Linked DNA regions of Homo sapiens: all the other regions are linked to region 4. Evidence: promoter capture Hi-C in human tissues and cell types (Jung and others, 2019). All regions are on one chromosome and are shown on one strand. The core of a region is centred on a gene start or on the middle of the fragment in contact, and the rest is flanking DNA. Distances in the headings are between cores, read along the strand shown.

Evidence for each region. Contacts are between HindIII fragments. The study calls those that stand out against the background at their distance.
Region 1: a fragment that was not itself captured here is called in contact with the fragment with the promoter of RGCC in region 4 in 2 of the 25 tissues and cell types used here (dorsolateral prefrontal cortex and lymphoblastoid cells).
Region 2: a contact is called between a fragment that was not itself captured here and the fragment with the promoter of RGCC in region 4, in 1 of the 25 tissues and cell types used here (H1 embryonic stem cells).
Region 3: a fragment that was not itself captured here is called in contact with the fragment with the promoter of RGCC in region 4 in 1 of the 25 tissues and cell types used here (dorsolateral prefrontal cortex).

The regions. Positions count from the first base shown.
Region 1 is chr13:42,068,806-42,071,505 of GRCh38, forward strand. All of the region lies in intron 1 of DGKH (diacylglycerol kinase eta), which reads left to right. It also overlaps the pseudogene MAPK6P3. Among named protein-coding and RNA genes, the nearest start is that of DGKH, 22 kb to the left of the region's middle. The HindIII fragment of the contact is 5,329 bases long and covers 1-2,700 here.
Region 2 is chr13:42,094,852-42,097,675 of GRCh38, forward strand. The region is part of intron 1 of DGKH (diacylglycerol kinase eta); the gene reads left to right. Among named protein-coding and RNA genes, the nearest start is that of DGKH, 48 kb to the left of the region's middle. RefSeq lists a silencer at 1-216. The HindIII fragment of the contact is 4,432 bases long and covers 1-2,824 here.
Region 3 is chr13:41,970,422-41,973,121 of GRCh38, forward strand. All of the region lies in intron 2 of VWA8-AS1 (VWA8 antisense RNA 1), which reads left to right. Among named protein-coding and RNA genes, the nearest start is that of VWA8-AS1, 11 kb to the left of the region's middle. The HindIII fragment of the contact is 7,046 bases long and covers 1-2,700 here.
Region 4 is chr13:41,456,216-41,458,915 of GRCh38, forward strand. It overlaps RGCC (regulator of cell cycle), which reads left to right and starts at 1,335. Exons shown (of 5, transcript NM_014059.3): 1 at 1,335-1,541; 2 at 2,070-2,255. The coding sequence starts at 1,493. RefSeq lists a silencer at 1,108-1,947 and enhancers at 1,521-2,198, 2,248-2,377. The HindIII fragment of the contact is 31,337 bases long and covers 1-2,700 here.

The DNA of each region.
Region 1 (2,700 bases), core at 96-2,595, 610 kb after region 4:
CAAGTACTCATAAAATCCTTACTAAATGACACCATCTGATTCAAGTAAAAAATGACTTAAACTCTAGTAATAAAAAAGACAAAATACATTTCATAAGAATACAAAGATAAATGTCTGCTGAGTGTTTTAGTTCAGATGTTCAGAATGCCGCTGTATGTTTGATGAGGAATTTGAGGGGAAGATTTCATAGCAGAAGCTGTTAATGTGGCCTGTATTGACTTAAGTGGTGACCCAACTGGACTGTGAAACTGCGGGATGCCTATTGGGCTCGAGCTGCTTATTAAAGAGGAACTCCTCACTGTTGTTCAGAAATCCTTCCTCATTTCTCTCTCCCCAAGCTTCCCATCCTCTACTGGCTCAGTTTCTAGCATTTCAGGATCTTCTTTCCTGCTGAAGAACTTGTCTAAGTAACTAGTGTGTTTTCCTTCTTAACTTGTTCATCCTTTCTTACTTCACAAAACTGATTTATGAGAAAACAGTTCTCCCCATCACTCACAAACTGGCTGTCCCAAGAAGATGGGTACAAAGTTTCTAATTGAGCCAGATTTGCCATTCCTTTTTCCTGTTTTTCTTGACTTACTGACTTTGATATCAAACTTTTCAATTCTAGTTGGGACACTGAGCTATTCAAGTCGATTTAATTTATCAACAACATCAGTAGACTCATGTTGGAAACTAAATTGAATAGTTCCTGCAATAAAGGAATGAAAATCAAATCCCTGATTCTTTTCCCTTTCTTTTCCAGCCAGTTGCCGTGATGCTTCCTCTAGCGCTATCTGGGCTTTAACCAATCCATTCCTTTCACATTTTGATTTTCTTTTCTTATCAGATTTTTCTTTGCTTTGTTCTTTCCAATTGGAAAGATCTGTAATAAGCTTGGGTTCATAGTAACAGTTAACTTCATTCTCTCTCCAAACTAAGTTATCTAAATATGATCATGACCTCGTTTTGTAATTACAAGTATGGCTACACTCCAGATCACAATATTTGTTTTCATGATGATCTGGGTACTGCCAACAAGGCTCAGCAGAGTAATTGGTATGGAAAGCAGGATCCCCCAGATACCTTTCCCGATCTCCATCCAAATAATTTCAGGGATCGACTTGTACTTCTTCATCAGTGACATCAGACAGAGCTCTTGGATTAAGCTGAACTTCATCAATATCAAAGTTGTTATGTATAGGCCAATCATGCTCTGAAAACTGACAGTCATAGTACCTTTCCCAGTTATAAATGTGACTGTGAGTTTCATCCATAAGCAAAATATTATGAGCTTCATCTTCAATATGAAAAGGATGGCTTGAAATTGGCTTATCCATTGGAAAAGAACATATGCTCATGTAAGGATGGGAGAGCGCTTCTTCTGCTATTAACCAATCCATGGGGCTAAATGTCAAAATTTGTTCCAGGAAATTCAGTGCTTCGCGACTAATTCCTGGAAGTAGCTGAGTTAAAGGTTTGTGTGGCTCAGTCATGTGATTTCTAATGTAAACTGGAATTACGCTGAGAAGCTCCTGACGATCTTCCTCATGTGCAACAGGAATAGATTCTAAAGTCAGCTGCATCTGTTCAAGTTCATGTGCACCTGCAAAAAGGGTTTTACAAAACAGTCAGCATTTCAGCAGAGATGCAGCCTGCAGCCCACATGTCAATGGCTTTAGTATAATTATTAGGAGAAAGTAAAAGACATGGAGATCTGTACCATTTAGTAACCAATCCTTCAAAAGATGACTCTTACGGGAATAATGAGGATCCATGATCCGTGCAAGACCAAAGTCGCCTATCTTCAGCACCAAGTCTTCAGTATTAATGAAAAGATTAGTTGGTTTGAGATCTCTGTGCAGTACATTTGCAGAGTGAATATACTTGAGCCCCCGTAGCAGCTGATACATGAAAAGCCTGGCATGCTCTTCCAGTAAAGGGCCCTGCTCCAGCACTTTAGACAAGTCTGTCTTCATGTACTCCTGAACAATGTAAACACTGTTTAGTTCCGTAAGAGAGCCCACATCATCTGTTAATTGGCTCCCACTGGGACCAGGAATTTCAAACACTTTCACAATGTTATCATGGTCAAGTCTTCTAATAATCTTGATTTCACATAGAGCATGTTTGACACTCTGGGGATTGGTAAGGACAATTTTCTTGATGGCTACTCTTTTGTCACAATCATTGTCTACAGCAGAAAAAAACAAGTAATTGCCTCCACAACCCAGTGGTTTTAAGTCCATATACGTAGAATCCAGATCAAAACCATGAATGTTCATGAGACTTTCAAATTTCTCTGCCACTTTGAAACCCTTATGATTGCCTTTTCCTTTGGAATTGTTGAACTTGTGTAAACAAGGAAGAAAACTGGCATCAAAAGGAAAGATCTTTCAAAAAGGGATAAGAAAAATAATTATGCTTCCACAGCAAGATGGTTTCTTGATGTTCATTGCTTCTGCCAAACAGGCCTGTTGATTTCCCCGTAGGTTTAAAGCTCAAAAAGCTCTACTCATGTTGAGAATTTAAAAGATTGCAGTACTCATAGTTCAAGAAAGGGGCAGCAACTCTGCAGACATTTAAAGAAGACACTCAAGAAACTCAAACAGAATGAAATGACATACTATGCACTCAGATTACTCTGCTAAACGATTTAACATTTAACAAAAATGTGAATAAATATGCACACAACAGGCTTCTATGAACATTCTCCTCACA
Region 2 (2,824 bases), core at 22-2,521, 640 kb after region 4:
CTGCCAGATTTTTAGCAATTGTGTTTGAAAAGAAAACCTGTAGAAAGGTAGCAGAAAACAAATGGGTAGTGGGATATGTGTCAGCTAGTTCCCTAACTATAGAAACCCTTGAAATAAGGCAAAAAACTTGTGTTAACCTGGGAAGGAAAGGAAAAATTGGGCAGCAGGATATGAAGGGGCCATGGAAGGAGCGGTGGGTCCTCCTGAGACGCTTTCCTGCTTTATAATTTTTTCCATTTTGACTGTGGGAGATACTACTGTAATACTTTCCTAGATATAGCAGCCGCTCAATAAATGTTGACTCCTTTTTTTTTTTTTTTTTTTTTTTTGAGACAGAGTCTCCCTCTGTTGCCCAGGCTGGAGTGCAGTGGTGCGATCTTGGCTCACTGCAGCCTCTGCCTCCCAGGTTCAAGTGATTCTCCTGCCTCAGCCTCCTGAGTAACTGGGATTACAGGCACCTGCCACCATGCCTGGCTAATTTTTTTATTTTTTGTAGAGATGGGATTTCACCATGTTGGCCAGGCTGGTCTTGAACACCTGAACTCAAGTGATCCCCCTGCCTCAGCCTCTCCAAGTGCTGGGATTATAGGCATGAGCCACTGCACCCAGCCAAATGTTGACTACTTTTAATGAGTGCTTAATACCTATTGGTAGAAGAAATTACATGTTGGAGTTAGGAGCTGTGTTTTTAGCCTTTTAACTTGAATTAGACACTGATGATTAGTAATTTTTTGTTCCTCCCAATTTTCTTCTATATTCCCTCTCCTTCAAAGAAAAGCAAAGGAAACTCGTTCTTCCTGTTTTTCTTAAAATGAATTTAAAATTTTACCATCTCTATATATCTATGTGAATATATATTTATATGCCCCACTTCTATAAAGCAGTATTTGATTTGGTACCTATGGATAACTATTAGCCTAATACTGCCATAATTACAATTCAATTAAGTTTATAACCTGACTTGTTCACTAGTTGGGAAGTAACTATGCATTTGTTGGCATTCTGGTTTAAAAACTTTACATTTGCTTGAACCAATCTGTCTAAATTTATAGAACAGAGTACTTACAAATGTCTAATTGTTTATTTTAAAGTTATATTGTTTCTATGTCATTGCTTGTTATTTTCTTAATAGAATTGAAAACTTTTTTGATTTTATGAATACTTATATTTTGATTTTTGTAAATTCAGTAGTTTTAGGTCACAACAAGTAATGTTTTGTCTTTCAAATTTAATTTGATTTTCATTTTATTTTAAACTTTTATGTTCAGGGGGGTCCATGTGCAGGTTTGTTACCCGGGTATATTGTGGGATGCTGAGGTTTGGAGTATGAGTGATCCTGTCACCCAGGTACTGAACACAGTACCCAACAGTTAATTTTTTAACCCCTCCCCACCTGCCCATCTAGTAGTCCTTAGTGTCTGTTGTTCCCATCTTTATGTTTATGAGTACCCAATGTTTAGCTCCCACTTATAAATGAGAACAGGCAGTATTTGGTTTTCTGTTCCTGCGTTAATTTGCTTAGGACAATGGCCTCCAGCTGCATCCATGTTGCTGCAAAGGACATGATTTCATTCTTGTTTATGGCTGCATAGTATTCCGTGGTGTATATGTACCACATTTTCTTTATCTAATCCACCATTGATGGACACCTGGGATGATTCCATGTTTTTGCCATATGACAAGTAATTTTTGAGAGACTTCAAATTTAATTCAGATCCCATTTATGTGGTAAGCTTTTCAGTCACTCCAGACTTGCCTGTTCTCTCCTGGCAATGAATTTCAATGACTTTTACCCAATAATGTCATGCATTGCACATTCTGCAAGGTTTAGTGGAATTGGCAAAGATGAATAAAATTGCTACCCTACTGGAAGCTAATGTTCCTGTTACCTGACTGAGGACCCTTTCAAGATGGAGGTATCATCATTTGAGGTGGGGTTGAGGGAACCACATGAGAAAGGAAAATGTACAAAGATTATTCAGGGACCAATGAGTTTGATCATATGGGAAGAAAAAGTCCTGCACACGTGGGTTTCCGTGTCTGAAGATGGTTCCATTTTTCTTTAACACAAGATTGGTGGTTCATCTGGGTTTAGAATTCTAGGTGAGAAGCCATTTATCTCTCAGACCATTGAAGGCATTGTTCCACTGAGTTCTAGCCTCCAGAACTGGGAAATCCTTTACAAGCTGGATCTTTGTATAATAGCTTTTCCCCAGCCTTTCCCTCCGGGGCTTTCAGGATCTTCTCTTTTCCTTAGGAATCTGAAACTTCAAAGTGAAATTCGTGTGGGTTTATTTTCATCCATTGTGTGGGCTTTTTGTATTCCCTTTCAGTTTTCAGTTCTGGGAAATTGTCTTGAATTAGCTCTTCCTTCTGTTTTCTCTGGTCTTTCTTTTTGGAATCACTATTATTTAGATGTTGGACCTCTTCCACTTACTGTGTAATTTTCCTATCTCCCTATCTCCCCCATTTTTCATCTTTTTGTCTTTTCATTCACACACACAAGAGAACACGAATACCCTTGAAGCCGACTGGAATCTCTGTGTTGGTTCAGTGGGGGGACTTGTCGCCTGTGTCCGTCACTGTTTAATCAAACTAGTCATTTTGTTGGTAACCCCTGTTATCAGCATTTTTTAACTCTTTTCTCTCAACTTTGTTAGATCCCCAAATAAGACTCATCCAGTGGAAAGTTGTAGCCCCAGATGCCGGCAACTGGGAGCCCAATAAACAGGAAATCCAGGGAACTCTGAATATTTAATATGTAAAATTTGTGTAACCCTCCTGTTTTCAATAATATATTCTTGCCCTCAGTTATTTTTGGGTC
Region 3 (2,700 bases), core at 142-2,641, 510 kb after region 4:
CTAGTATTAAAATGTAAATCTACCTCTGAGAACACAGATGACCCTTAACTCTTTTTCTAAACTACTGATTCTACACACACTCAACCTTTATAGCCTTTTCTCTATTACACAAGGGACCCTAAAATTTAATGGTAAATGATTTTCTAAATTCGTCATTGTGAACTATTTGTGTTATGACCAAATTGTGTGTGATATCTGTTTTCTTTCAAACTACTGAAACATGTTAAGTAAATCATTCTTTGGGCATCATGCATTGTGATTATTCATAAAGAAGGATTACTTTGTTTACGAGCATTTACCAAATCTTTAGTCAGAATATACAGAGGCCTCCAGGAGCCTAGATTAGATATAGGGAAGGGAAAACATGTATTGGTGCTCACAGTAACTAGGAAAAGGGTCCTAGACAACATATGATTGAATTTAAGGAAATTGTTCCATACGATATTATTGAGTGCCTGCTATATGCCCTGTACTGCACTATTCACTGGGAAACCATAGTAAATAAGACAGTTTCCTATGGAACTTGGGACCTATTTAGTCTGTTTTATATTTAGAAGTTTGAGTTTGCCCTATTGGTCAGTGGTTTTCAAACTCTGTTTGAAGCCTGTCATATAATCAATAATTTGTCTGGTCTTTGTCCTGGGTTCCTGGCACAAATAGGAGTCTCTTTATTATTCATGAGCCTTTGCGAACACTCTTCAGTTTGTGCTAATGAGGTGATTCATGGTGGAACCTAGATAGCTTCAGGATGGATGCTGATCATTCCAGAAAGATCAACTATGTGATTAAAGAGTTGAGGCTTTGAACCATATGATAGCAGCCCAGCCTCCTGACCGTCAGGAAGTGGAGGGGGATTGGAAATGGATCTCACTCATGTGGCCAAAACCCCAAAAAACTCTGGATGCCAAAGCTCAGTGGAACTTCCTGGTTGATGAACACCTCAACACACCAGAATGCAGAGTGGCAGAGAGTGTAGAATCTCTACATTTGGAACCCTCCAAGATGTCACCCTATGCGTCTCTACATTTGGCTGTTCCTGCCTAGTACCCTTTATAATAAAGCTGTTATTGTAAATATAGCACTTTCCTGAGTTATGTGAGACATTTTAGTGAATTATTGTGAGACCCATCCCCCTCTGGATTTGTAAACAGTCTGAAGTGAGGGCTGTTTTGCTTTGGACCAATGCCCTTTAACTGGTGGGGTCTGTACTAACTCCAGATTGTTAGTGCCAGAATTGGAATGCACTATACCAGCTGATGTCAGAATAGAACCCCTTCTTCAGTGGCTGCAAAGGAGGGGATTGGGAAAAAAGTTTCATACTAGTTGTAAATTCTGTTCTCCATAATGGCCTCCTGGGTACCCTTTGTTGAGTGATTACTAAGTATCAGAGCAGTTATTTCTGTTTTACAAATGGGAACACCTAGGCTTACAGGACATAAATAACTTCCCCATATTTACATGTAAAGTAACTAGGGACTTGATTGTTGTGAAGAGAAGGTTAAATTCAAGAGCCATTTTGGAATAATTATCAAGTGGCTAATTACACGTGAAAATCAAAAGAGAAAGACATCCAAAGCTAACGTAAGATTGTGACAAAGGAAACCAGATTTTAGAGATATCGGTAACCACAAAAGACAAGGGATGCCATTTTGAGAAAAAGTGGTGACTTTACGTAAAAAGAAAACAAAAACATTTGAAGTTTAAAATGTGAGTGGAAAAGCAGGAGTAAGAAAAGAAGTATAATCCAGCAAGGTTAGCTTGATGTTAGTGAAAGCCTTTGTTTCCTTAGTTTTATTGTTTTAATGCCAATAAAATGTGGATAACGACATGTAGCTCAGACAACTAGCAATCATAAGGATTCCAAGCTAGCTGCCCGGCATCATCTTCAACATATTTCACGTTCCTCACAAACAACGACTCCCTTTCCTTCTCCTTAGTATGCACTGTTAGAGCAGGAAGAAAATATGATCTGTGACCCAAAATAGAGACTCAACTATACCTGCCTGTTCAAAATCTACACGACTTATTAAGACCCTTTCACAAATCCAGTGAAATCCCAAAAATACAGCAGAAATGCCATGATGTGTTTCATACTCCCTAGCTAAAAGTTGAGGGTTGCTGGAAAATCACAACCCATAACCACTGCAGAATAAAATTCAGTGCATATTAGAACATTGCAAACAATTTTTGTATGTATATTTAATATTTATACACAGATAGACATTAAAATGAAATTATAAAATAAATAAAATAAAAATATATTTCTATTTAAAACATAGGTGCAGGTTTCTCCCTCACATGACTGTGCACAAGAACACTGAATAACTGCGTTGGTCAAGTTTTATAATGAGGGTTCACTTAGGCACTGAAGGTTGTCTATTATCCCTGGTGCCTGACCATTAAATGCTAGGAATGGCACCCTGTCATTGTGAGACCCCCCACCACCAGATTTCCCAACTTCACCCTAGCCCCTGGTACTATTCCACCTGAGAGCTTTTGCCCCAGAGCCTCCTTGCTGGGTACAGAGAGGATGTTTGGGGCAAAGAACAAAAGTCTCCTTATTTATCTGGGCACAATATGATTCTTTCCCTTCCCAGTTACTTGTCACAATTTCTATTAGATTGGTACAAATGTAATTGAGGTTTTTGCTATTTATTGAAAGTAATGACAAAACTGCAATTACTTTTGCACCAACCTAAC
Region 4 (2,700 bases), core at 85-2,584:
TAGCTAAGGAAGGATCCCGCTCCACTCACCCAGGGAAATCAACTCCTGAAGTTCTGTTCGACCCCACATCAGAGGATCCATTGCAGGAGATGGCACCAGAGATCCCAGTGGTGTCCTCCCCTTAACAGGGAAAGAGGCTCCCCACTCTTGAGCCCACAGTGCTTGTGCCTCCACAAGACAAGCATATCCCTAGGCCACCCAGAGTAGACAAGAGAGGAGGACTATTCATATGATTAGTGGTCATTAACATATACTCCTTTGTGAGGTGTATGTTTCAATGTTTTGCTCATTTTTAATTTTTACCAGGTTGTCTATTTGTGATTACTTTGTAGATGGGTCTTTCTATATTCTGAAAACAAATCCTGGCTGGGTGCGGTGGCTCACGCCTGTAATCCCAGCACTTTGGGAGGCTGAGGTGGGCAGATCACCTGAGGTCGGGAGTTCGAGACCAGCCTGGCCAACATGGACAAACCCCGTCTCTGCTAAAAATACAAAAACTAGCTGGGAGTGGAGGCTGAATGTTTCACTCCGTTACATGTTAATTGCTCTACATTTAATTAGCCGTCTGTGGTGAGAGGCGAGAGGCTAGCGCCTAGCTCAGCGCACAGTCCAGGGCGTTCGCCCCCGCAGGCCGCGGGGCAGGGTGGCTCGTTACTCCGTGGACACTGCAAGGCGCCCTGTTCGCGCTGCGTCGACGCAGTAGTTTCTTCCCATAATAAACCCCTTCTAGATAAAGTCAGGCTGGCGGGAGCGCCCTGGACCGTAGTTCAGGCCCCCGCGCTCCGCGGTGGGAACAGTTCAGGACTCCCCCAACTCCTGCCCCTCTCGCCCCGACCCTCTCCACTCCGCCCGCCCACCATCTCGGAAGTCCCCTTGGGACAATGCGTAGGGGACCTCCGCGTCCCCGACACCCGACTGGGACACGGCCGCGGGCTCCTTCGTCCCTCACCGCCAGCCAGGGAGGCTCTGCATGCCCACGTCCACTTCACAGCCGAGGAAGCTGCGGCTCGCGGAGGTGCCTGGCACGCGGCGGGAAGCAGCAGAGCTCGCGCCCAGCAGTCAGCTCTGGTGACGCCGAGGACACCGCGTGGGCCGGGTTGTCAGGGCGCGGGGGCGAGAGGCGGGTAAATATTTGGGGCTGTAACCGGGGCTTCGGCGACTCCTCGTCACCGCGGTTCCAGGGCGGGCGCGTGGCGAGGGCGGTGCCTGGGGGCAGGGGCCTCCTCGGAGGGCGGCGGGGACAGACCCGTCGCCCCGGCTCCGCAGCCCCGCCCCGGCCCCGCCTCCGCTCCGGCCGCCGAAGGCTATAAGATCTAGGAACCCGAGCCGGTGGTAGGGCGGGCGCGGACCGTGCTGGGAGCGGCGCGGCTGGAGCGCAGCGCCGAAGGGACTGGCAGGGCTGAAGTGTGCGGGACAGCAAGCCCCCGAATAGCCCCGGCTGCCACCTCGCAGGACCCAAGGCCACGCGCGCCGGGCCCAGCTGAGCCGCCTCATGAAGCCGCCCGCGGCGCAGGGCAGCCCCGCGGCCGCCGCGGCCGCAGGTGAGTGCGGGGTCCGGGGTCCCCTTAAAGTCTCGGCTCTGCAGATGGCGGGTGAGAAAGGAGGGGCCCCGTGTCGTCCCTTCACACCCCCCACCCTTCCATCCTCCCCGGCGGGAACCTGTCCCCGGTCTTCCCGCGCGGGCGGCTGCAGCCTCCTTTCCGGCCCGGGCTGGCCCCCATGTCCCACCTTCCCTCCACCACCAGCTCCGCGCGCGCCCGGGGTTGGGGGGAGCGGCGGGGACAGGTAACCGGCAGCGCCTGGGGAGGAATCTGGCCGCGCCAAGTCGCTGGGTGACCCTGGGCCTGGCGAAGGCTCAGTTTTCTTGTCTGTAAAACGGACTTGGTAATAGAACGCACTTCGGGGGTGGTGGAGAAGATTACAAGGTAACAGCGACTGCGTGGCTGTCACTTGGCAGAGGCGCCAAGTGTCAGTTATCTTCGGGAACCGTGGCGGCCCCTCCTGGCCCTGGGAGGTGGTCCCGCTGCCCCCCTGACTTCCGTGCACTGAGCCCCTGGCCCTGCCCGCAGCCCCGGCCCTGGACTCGGCGGCCGCGGAGGACCTGTCGGACGCGCTGTGCGAGTTTGACGCGGTGCTGGCCGACTTCGCGTCGCCCTTCCACGAGCGCCACTTCCACTACGAGGAGCACCTGGAGCGCATGAAGCGGCGCAGCAGCGCCAGTGTCAGCGACAGCAGCGGCTTCAGCGACTCGGAGAGTAAGTGCGGCCCCCGCTAGGATGGCGCCGGGATCTCCCAGCTCCCAGGACCTGCCCCGCGAAGGCTGCGGCCTCAGTTTTCTTATCAGTAAACTGAGGAATGGTTTCCTGAAGCTCAACGCAGTAGGCCGAGTGGTGGCGGGGCCCCTGACGATAATCACGGGAAAGGTCGCTGGAGGGCAGGTTGGTTCACTTGCCGCCCACGGGTGTGTCACCAGGCAGGCGAGTTTAAGCAGCTTGTCCCGACTCAGCCAGACAGGACTCCCTGGACCTGCACCAGGCCTTTCCGCAGTTTCCCTCCTCTTCTCCTTTCCGTGCCTCTCCCCTCTCAGCTGTAACTTTGCAGATGTGGAACAAGTGCCAGTGGAATGAGGGGGCACAGTGGGGACATGGGAGGGCGCAGAACGGAAATATTCATGAAACCAGGAAAGGTTTCATAAGCCCA